Regions from separate parts of the Homo sapiens genome. Here region 2 is linked to region 1. The links are contacts of gene promoters, found by promoter capture Hi-C in blood cells and fetal thymus (Javierre and others, 2016). All regions are on one chromosome and are shown on one strand. The core of a region is centred on a gene start or on the middle of the fragment in contact, and the rest is flanking DNA. Distances in the headings are between cores, read along the strand shown. Region 1 holds the start of SDC1 (syndecan 1). Region 2 overlaps PUM2 (pumilio RNA binding family member 2).

Region 1 (3,087 bases), core at 78-2,577:
TCTGGGGACCCTCAGGCTGCTCTTTGTCGGCCACGTCCCTCTTTAGTGGAGCGTCAGCCCCGCTGAAGGTGGATGCTGCATCCCACCCAAAGGCCTCTTACAGCCCCGAGCTCCACATCTGCCCCTCTTTTCTCCCAGCTGCACTGGGCGGGCCAAGGGACCCGCCTTCCCTCCGCGCGGCTTCAGCACAAAGCCGAGCCGGGGAGCGGGAGGCCATTCCCGGGTCCCCTCGCGTGGAAGGCGCCTGCGCCTCGGCCGTGCCCGGCACGGGAACGCGCCCTCCGGGGCCAGCTCAACTTCAGCAGCCCAGAAGTTGGGCTCCTCCGGGTCTCCAGCGTTCCGAGGCCAACTTCCCGGAACCTCCCGCTGCCGGGCCGGCTCAGCTCACCTCGAGCCGCCCACGGCAAGCCCGAGGGCCCTGCAGACGCTCGCCCGCGCCCCCCACGCAGCCCTGGCCCGGCTCCCCGGGCCAACGCGGCCGCCTCCCGCTCCCGCGCCGGCCGCGCTGCGCCCAAACTTGCCCTGGCGCAAGGGGCGGGGCGCCCGGGCTCGGCGGCGCTGGGGCGCAAGCCCGCGGGTCTGGTTTGAATTAGGGTCTGCAGGGGGGGCGTTGTGGCCGCGGTCACTGCATCCCCCCGGGTCACCGACGGGGGCCCGGCCGCCGCGGTGGCCGGGGCGAGGAGGGTGGGAACGGGCGACCCCGGGCGCCGCTGTGGGCTGGCGGGCTCCGACAGATGTGGAGACGTTTTACATAATTGAGCGCGGGGCCCCGGCCCCCCACCCTCCCCAGCGCGGGACCGGTGCGGCACCCACCGACAGCGGAGGAAATTGGGGCTGGAGCCCTGGTCTCGGGGCTCACCGTCCCGGGACCCGCTGGGCTAGCGCGGGAAGAAGGGAAGTCTTCGCTCCCCCTCCCCCTCCACGTGCACCCGCCGGCATCCGCGGGTGACCAGTCCCGGCTTCCCGCCGCCTCCCCGCCTGGCCGCCGGCCGCACTCACCGGCAGGGCCGGCTGCAGGCTCAGCGCCAGCGCGCACAGCCAGAGCCAGAGCGCCGCGCGCCTCATGCTGCCCGGACCGGCGGCGGGAGAGCGGCAGGCTGCGCGGGTCGCGGCTGCGGGCCGGCTTCGCGGGTTCCGCTGCTCGATGCTCTCTTGGGCGCCTGCCCAGCGCGCCGCTGTCCCAGGCGAGGGCTGCAGGGTCCGCCGGCTGGAGTCCGCTCTCTACTGCCGGATTCCTCTCCGCTCGGCTCGGATTCGGCCCGCACCTCTCCCGCCGAGCTCCGCCTTATAATAAACCCACAGGCCCTTCCTTAGCCGTTGCAAAAACTGGCCCCCCACCCCCAGCTCCGCCAGGTCTCCCGGCCAGCCCCAGTCCACACCCCCCAGGACCCCGCCCCCCAGCCACCCCTCCCGGCCCCTTCGGAACGCCCCACCCCCGGCCCGCTCCTAAGGTTCTTGCCTGCTTGGCTCCCGCTCCTCCGGTGGCCGAACGTCGCTTTCGGGAGCTGTGGTCCCCGCAAGCCGCGGTTCCCGGCCTTTCAGCTCGGCTGCTCCCTGGGTGGTGGGGCCGAGGCGCACCCCCTTCTGCCCGGGCCCGGAGTGCGGAGGCGCAGCCCGGGAGAGGGGCTGAAGGGGGGCAGGCAGTCCTCGGGCGCGAGTGTGCAGCGCCCTCTGGGCGTGGACGCGGAGCGCGCTCCAGGTGCGCAGGACTCCTAGCTCTCTTGGGGAACGCTTTCTGGGGCAGGGCGGGGACCCGGGGGCGATGGGGCCTTCAACCGACGGGCAAACACACACAGACACACCCCGGCTGTCCTCCAGCTGCGATGCGGCTCGCTGCGCCCCGCCGGCCCAGATTCTCCCGTACGCTCGCGTTCTTCCTGCACTCCACAAAGTGCTGGAGACTTGGGGCCTTAGTTTAAACAGCTGCACCCGCACGGAAGGGCTGCAAGAAAAAGGGGGACGGGGGCGGAGTTCGCAGCGTTTTTCTGTGGAAGACAACGCCCTCTCTCTTCATCTGAGCTAAAAGGAAAAATAAGTAACTTCTTTGTTCCCCGGTGACCTCGGGCACGCGGATCTGAGGAGCACCGTGCAGTTGCTGCTCCTTCGAGATCCCCTGCGAGGCCCTGGGCCTCAGTTCAAAAAGCTGTGGAAGGCCTGCGGGTGTAGGGGAAACGGCCGAGAGAGCAAAGGGGAAGAACCGGACGGGCCCTGCCCACATCTGGCAGGCAGGAGAGATGGTGCCAAACGACCTTCGCACCTGGGCCCTGAGACCAAAGATGGCGTCGTCCTCCCCTGTCTTCCCTAGGCGGAAGGCAAGAACTTGGGTCGGCCTGAGCTGGGGACCAAGAAAATATCGGGAAGTGTCCAGTGTTCCTCTTTAAAAGAATTAAACCTTCCTGGGCCACGCAGGGACTGACCGTGGGACCCTGGACTCTCCTCCACCTTCCACCGTGGAGCAGGCTCTGGAGCCGAGCAGCCTCCTGCGTCCCCATCTCATCCCCCCACTCCTCCTCACAGCACTAAAAGATGATGGCCTGCTTGTACCCCTGCTCCTGAGCACCTGTTTGACCTCAAAGAGCTCTCGCTTTTGGGGTGTCCGTCTCCCCAAGTCTGTCTAGGGGGCAGGAAGACCTTCATCAGGGTTCTTGGGGGCCGATGTGGGCTCGCTGAGTGCCTGAGTGATGGATGGTCTCACAGCACGGCACCACGGAGGTCCAGCCGAGCTCGAGGAGTCCCTGTGGATTAAAAATGCCCTTTTCGAAGGTTCTACCTCTACCAGAGGGTGGCTCCACAGATCCCTTCAACCCAGTATGGTGGAAAAATAGGAATTTTGGAATCTTACCTTTCTCTACTGCTCACAACAGAGGAAACTGGGGTCAGGGAGGATTTGATGGAGTCTTTTCATTTTTTAAAAGTCACTCACGGCCAAGCGCGATGGCTCACGCCTGTAACCCCAGCACTTTGGGAGGCCGAGGCGGGCAGATCACCTGAGGTCAGGAGTTCTCGACCAGCCTGGCTAACACGGTGAATCCCCATCTCTACTAAAAATACAAAAATTAGCCGGATATGGTGGCAGGTGCCTATAAT
Region 2 (3,150 bases), core at 603-3,102, 100 kb after region 1:
AATAAGGAAAAAATAAAAATGCTTAAAATATTATCATGATAGTCTTCCTATTACAGTGGGTAAAGTTTAAGATAGAATTAAGATAGAGATTATCTAGACAAACTATGACCAGCTATTTAAACACTATTTGAAATGGCTGGTTTCCATTCCAGTTATCCCTAAGAGCTTATATTAAAGCAAGAGCATTTCAGAGATACATGTGATTCATACAAAAGGTTATTCTTATTATTATTTTTAAAGTCAGTCAGTCTTACTCAAGGTCATAACACTAGGGAGAGATCTAGGAGAAAACACAAGTCTCCTTCCTCCCCTACCTAGTAAGTCTTCCACTTCACCACACTACATAGAATCTTAGTACACAGGCTTTCTTTAATGCTTTCTTTATATATTATTGTGTTGGAAAGACAGGAGAGAGCACTGCTTATCATACTAAGCTATAAAGATATTCTCAAAATAAAAGATATTAATTCAGTGATTTAAAGTTAGATTCTGGATTTTCTGAAGAATTTCAGACAGGGCCCTCTTTCCTGTTATTTAAAAAATAAGCAGAAACCCAGCTATATGTGCCCCAACAACCTAGAGAAGCTAATAGGTATGAGCCTATGCAGTGTGTCTGACTTAACACTACACTAATAAAGCAGAGTTCAATCTCCTATAGATTAGTTTTGCTCTTTTTAAGCCACATGACATAATGCAAATCAGTAGGTCTTTCGACAGAAACATGCTATCAGTGTAAAAACAGAGAGGGTAAGTTTATGAATAGGTGAATACAAATCTCTTATTTGTGGATGCCTTCTGATGATGGCTCAGTAAAGACATCATGATCTACAAAACACAGTAAATTTGAAATTAGTCCTACATGTAGATGTAACACTTTGTACATTAGAGATTTACAACACTTAAGACAACAGTAAGCAAAAACTATTTTTAAAGAAAGTCAAGACAAGGGTAATCTATTTTAAAAACCGTTTTGCATTAAAAAAAAAAAAAAGCATTTTTAGAAAACTTAAGAGCCAGAAACTCAAGGCTGCTTTTAATTTATTCCAATGAATGAATTCTGGGATATAACAAAAACAAAAAAACCTCACCTGTCAGGAAAGGAGGAGAAGACTGGTGAGAGAGAGAGGCAAAGAAGGAAATCCCAGAAGGTTCCTTGCTGCCTGTGAGATGAGGAAAGATAGAAAGGCTTGTGGGAGAGAGAACCCAGAGACAGAAATCTCAGTAGGTTTTTCTTAGCTATCTTTTTGAGGTGACAGTGTTAGTGCTTAAACTGTTAAGAAATAAACTAATGAGAGCATCTTAAAATATATTTTTACTGGATGAAGGTTACAGATACACTGACATGCTGCTATCCACCAGGTAGCAGGAAACCGTGGTCACTTTTACTCTCCATATCTGACATGTCCAATAAGGAAGTCTGGATTTAAGCTTTTTTCTTTTAACATACCATTCAACCCAGCTACTCTTTCCCCCAAATAACTAAACCCTTTCAACCACTGTTTCAGATCATGACATTTTTTTGATCTGCAAAGATAACTTTAAAATTATTAAATATTATTTAGAAAGAGTGAAAAAACACCAGTTTGAAAACATATATACAATATACATCTAAGAAGTGATAAAGGGAGTCTAAAATTAATGTAGGAGTATGACTCTCTTGTTCTTTTTTTTTTTTTTTGAGACGGAGTCTCGGTTTGTCCCCCAGGCCAGAGAGCAGTGGTGCAATCTCGGCTCACTGCAAGCTCCGCCTCCCGGGTTCACGCCATTCTCCTGCCTCAGCCTCCCGAGTAGCTGGGACTACAGGCGCCTGCCGCCACGCCCGGCTAATTTTTTGTATTTTTAGTAGAGACGGGGTTTCACCGTATTAGCCAGGATGGTCTCTATCTCCTGACCTTGTGATCCGCCCACCTTGGACTCCCAAAGTGCTGGGATTACAGGTGTGAGCCACTGTGCCCAGCCTGACTCTCTTGCTCTTAAAGAATTATCAGCAAGTTCAAGTTTGTCATAGACAAGAAGGTTGAAGCACTGTTCAACCCTGCTTTTAATATATGTTATTCTGCTTTTTAAAGAGCAAAGAAAAGTAGTGGCCAGGAAAGAACAAAAGCCCTTTTCATCTGCCTCTTATTTGCCAATAGCATAAATAATGCCTAACCAGATATTGCACTGCAGTGAAGCTACAGATTTTGTTTACAAAAAAAATTCAATTTCTTCAATTTTTCTTAGGGTTGAGAATTTTACCTTATGCACTGGTCTAACAAATTTATTTTGGCAATACTTAAGCTTAAGCACCTTAACTCACCCTTAAATCAGTCCTCTGAAAATGACATACTCTTTGGAAAACGCTGTTCTGAAGAAGGGGAGGGTTAGCTAGCTGCAGGGTGCCCTCTTGTGGCCCAAAGGAGAGACTTGGACTCTTTTCTGCATCTGAAGAGCACAGCATTGGATGGAGTGAGTCTCATGAAGGTCTCTATTCTACCAAGGTAAAATAATCTCCAGGAGCAAGCAGTTAATTACACATCTTAGGTCTGTTCACTGTTATCTTCTATTATCAAAGTCTACGTTAGTAGTACAGAACATGACAAAATACAGATGTCACCACAAGAGTTTCCATAATCAAAGTTCTCTAAGTATTCATTAGCTATATGAAAAATGAAGTATTTGATGCCTTAAAATATATAATGATGAGGTTAACTTTGGTGCTCCAAAGAAAATCATAGATTAACGAGAATGATAAAATCCATTAAGAAATGCGAAGTGCCTACTATGCTAGGCATTCAAAGCTAATAATTTACAGGGGAGACAAGTGTAAAACAAACTAACCAGCAATATAATAAAAGTCTGTATGAAGAACTAGAAGCCAGATGAAGGGCTTAATTCTATGGCAGATAGCAACTAGACAATAGATACATCCCAGTCGAGTCTTGTAGAAGATTAGAAGTTTGTTAAGTAAACAGTTTTGGGTGAACAAGAGATTTTTGGAAGGGAGAATAGTAAAACAAGTATGGCTAAAGCAAACACAGCATACATATATAAAACAGCAGAACAAGGCTAAAGAGTTTTTTTCAAGCAAAGCTAATTATAGTTCATTACCAAAATATAAGAAATTATCTCACCAAGTCAATCAAATCACCTAGACACAAATAATCACAC

The links. The method cuts DNA at HindIII sites, captures the fragments that hold promoters and counts their contacts. A CHiCAGO score of 5 or more calls a contact.
Region 2: a fragment that was not itself captured here is called in contact with the fragment with the promoter of SDC1 in region 1 in 1 of 17 cell types (endothelial precursors); the score reaches 5.4 in endothelial precursors.

The regions. Positions count from the first base shown.
Region 1 is chr2:20,223,803-20,226,889 of GRCh38, forward strand. SDC1 (syndecan 1) reads right to left here and starts at 1,328. Exons shown (of 5, transcript NM_002997.5): 1 at 1,000-1,328. The coding sequence starts at 1,065. RefSeq lists silencers at 305-764, 785-844, 885-1,304, 1,365-1,744 and enhancers at 1,296-1,975, 1,976-2,655. The HindIII fragment of the contact is 9,225 bases long and covers 1-3,087 here.
Region 2 is chr2:20,323,962-20,327,111 of GRCh38, forward strand. The region is part of intron 2 of PUM2 (pumilio RNA binding family member 2); the gene reads right to left. Among named protein-coding and RNA genes, the nearest start is that of PUM2, 25 kb to the right of the region's middle. The HindIII fragment of the contact is 852 bases long and covers 1,427-2,278 here.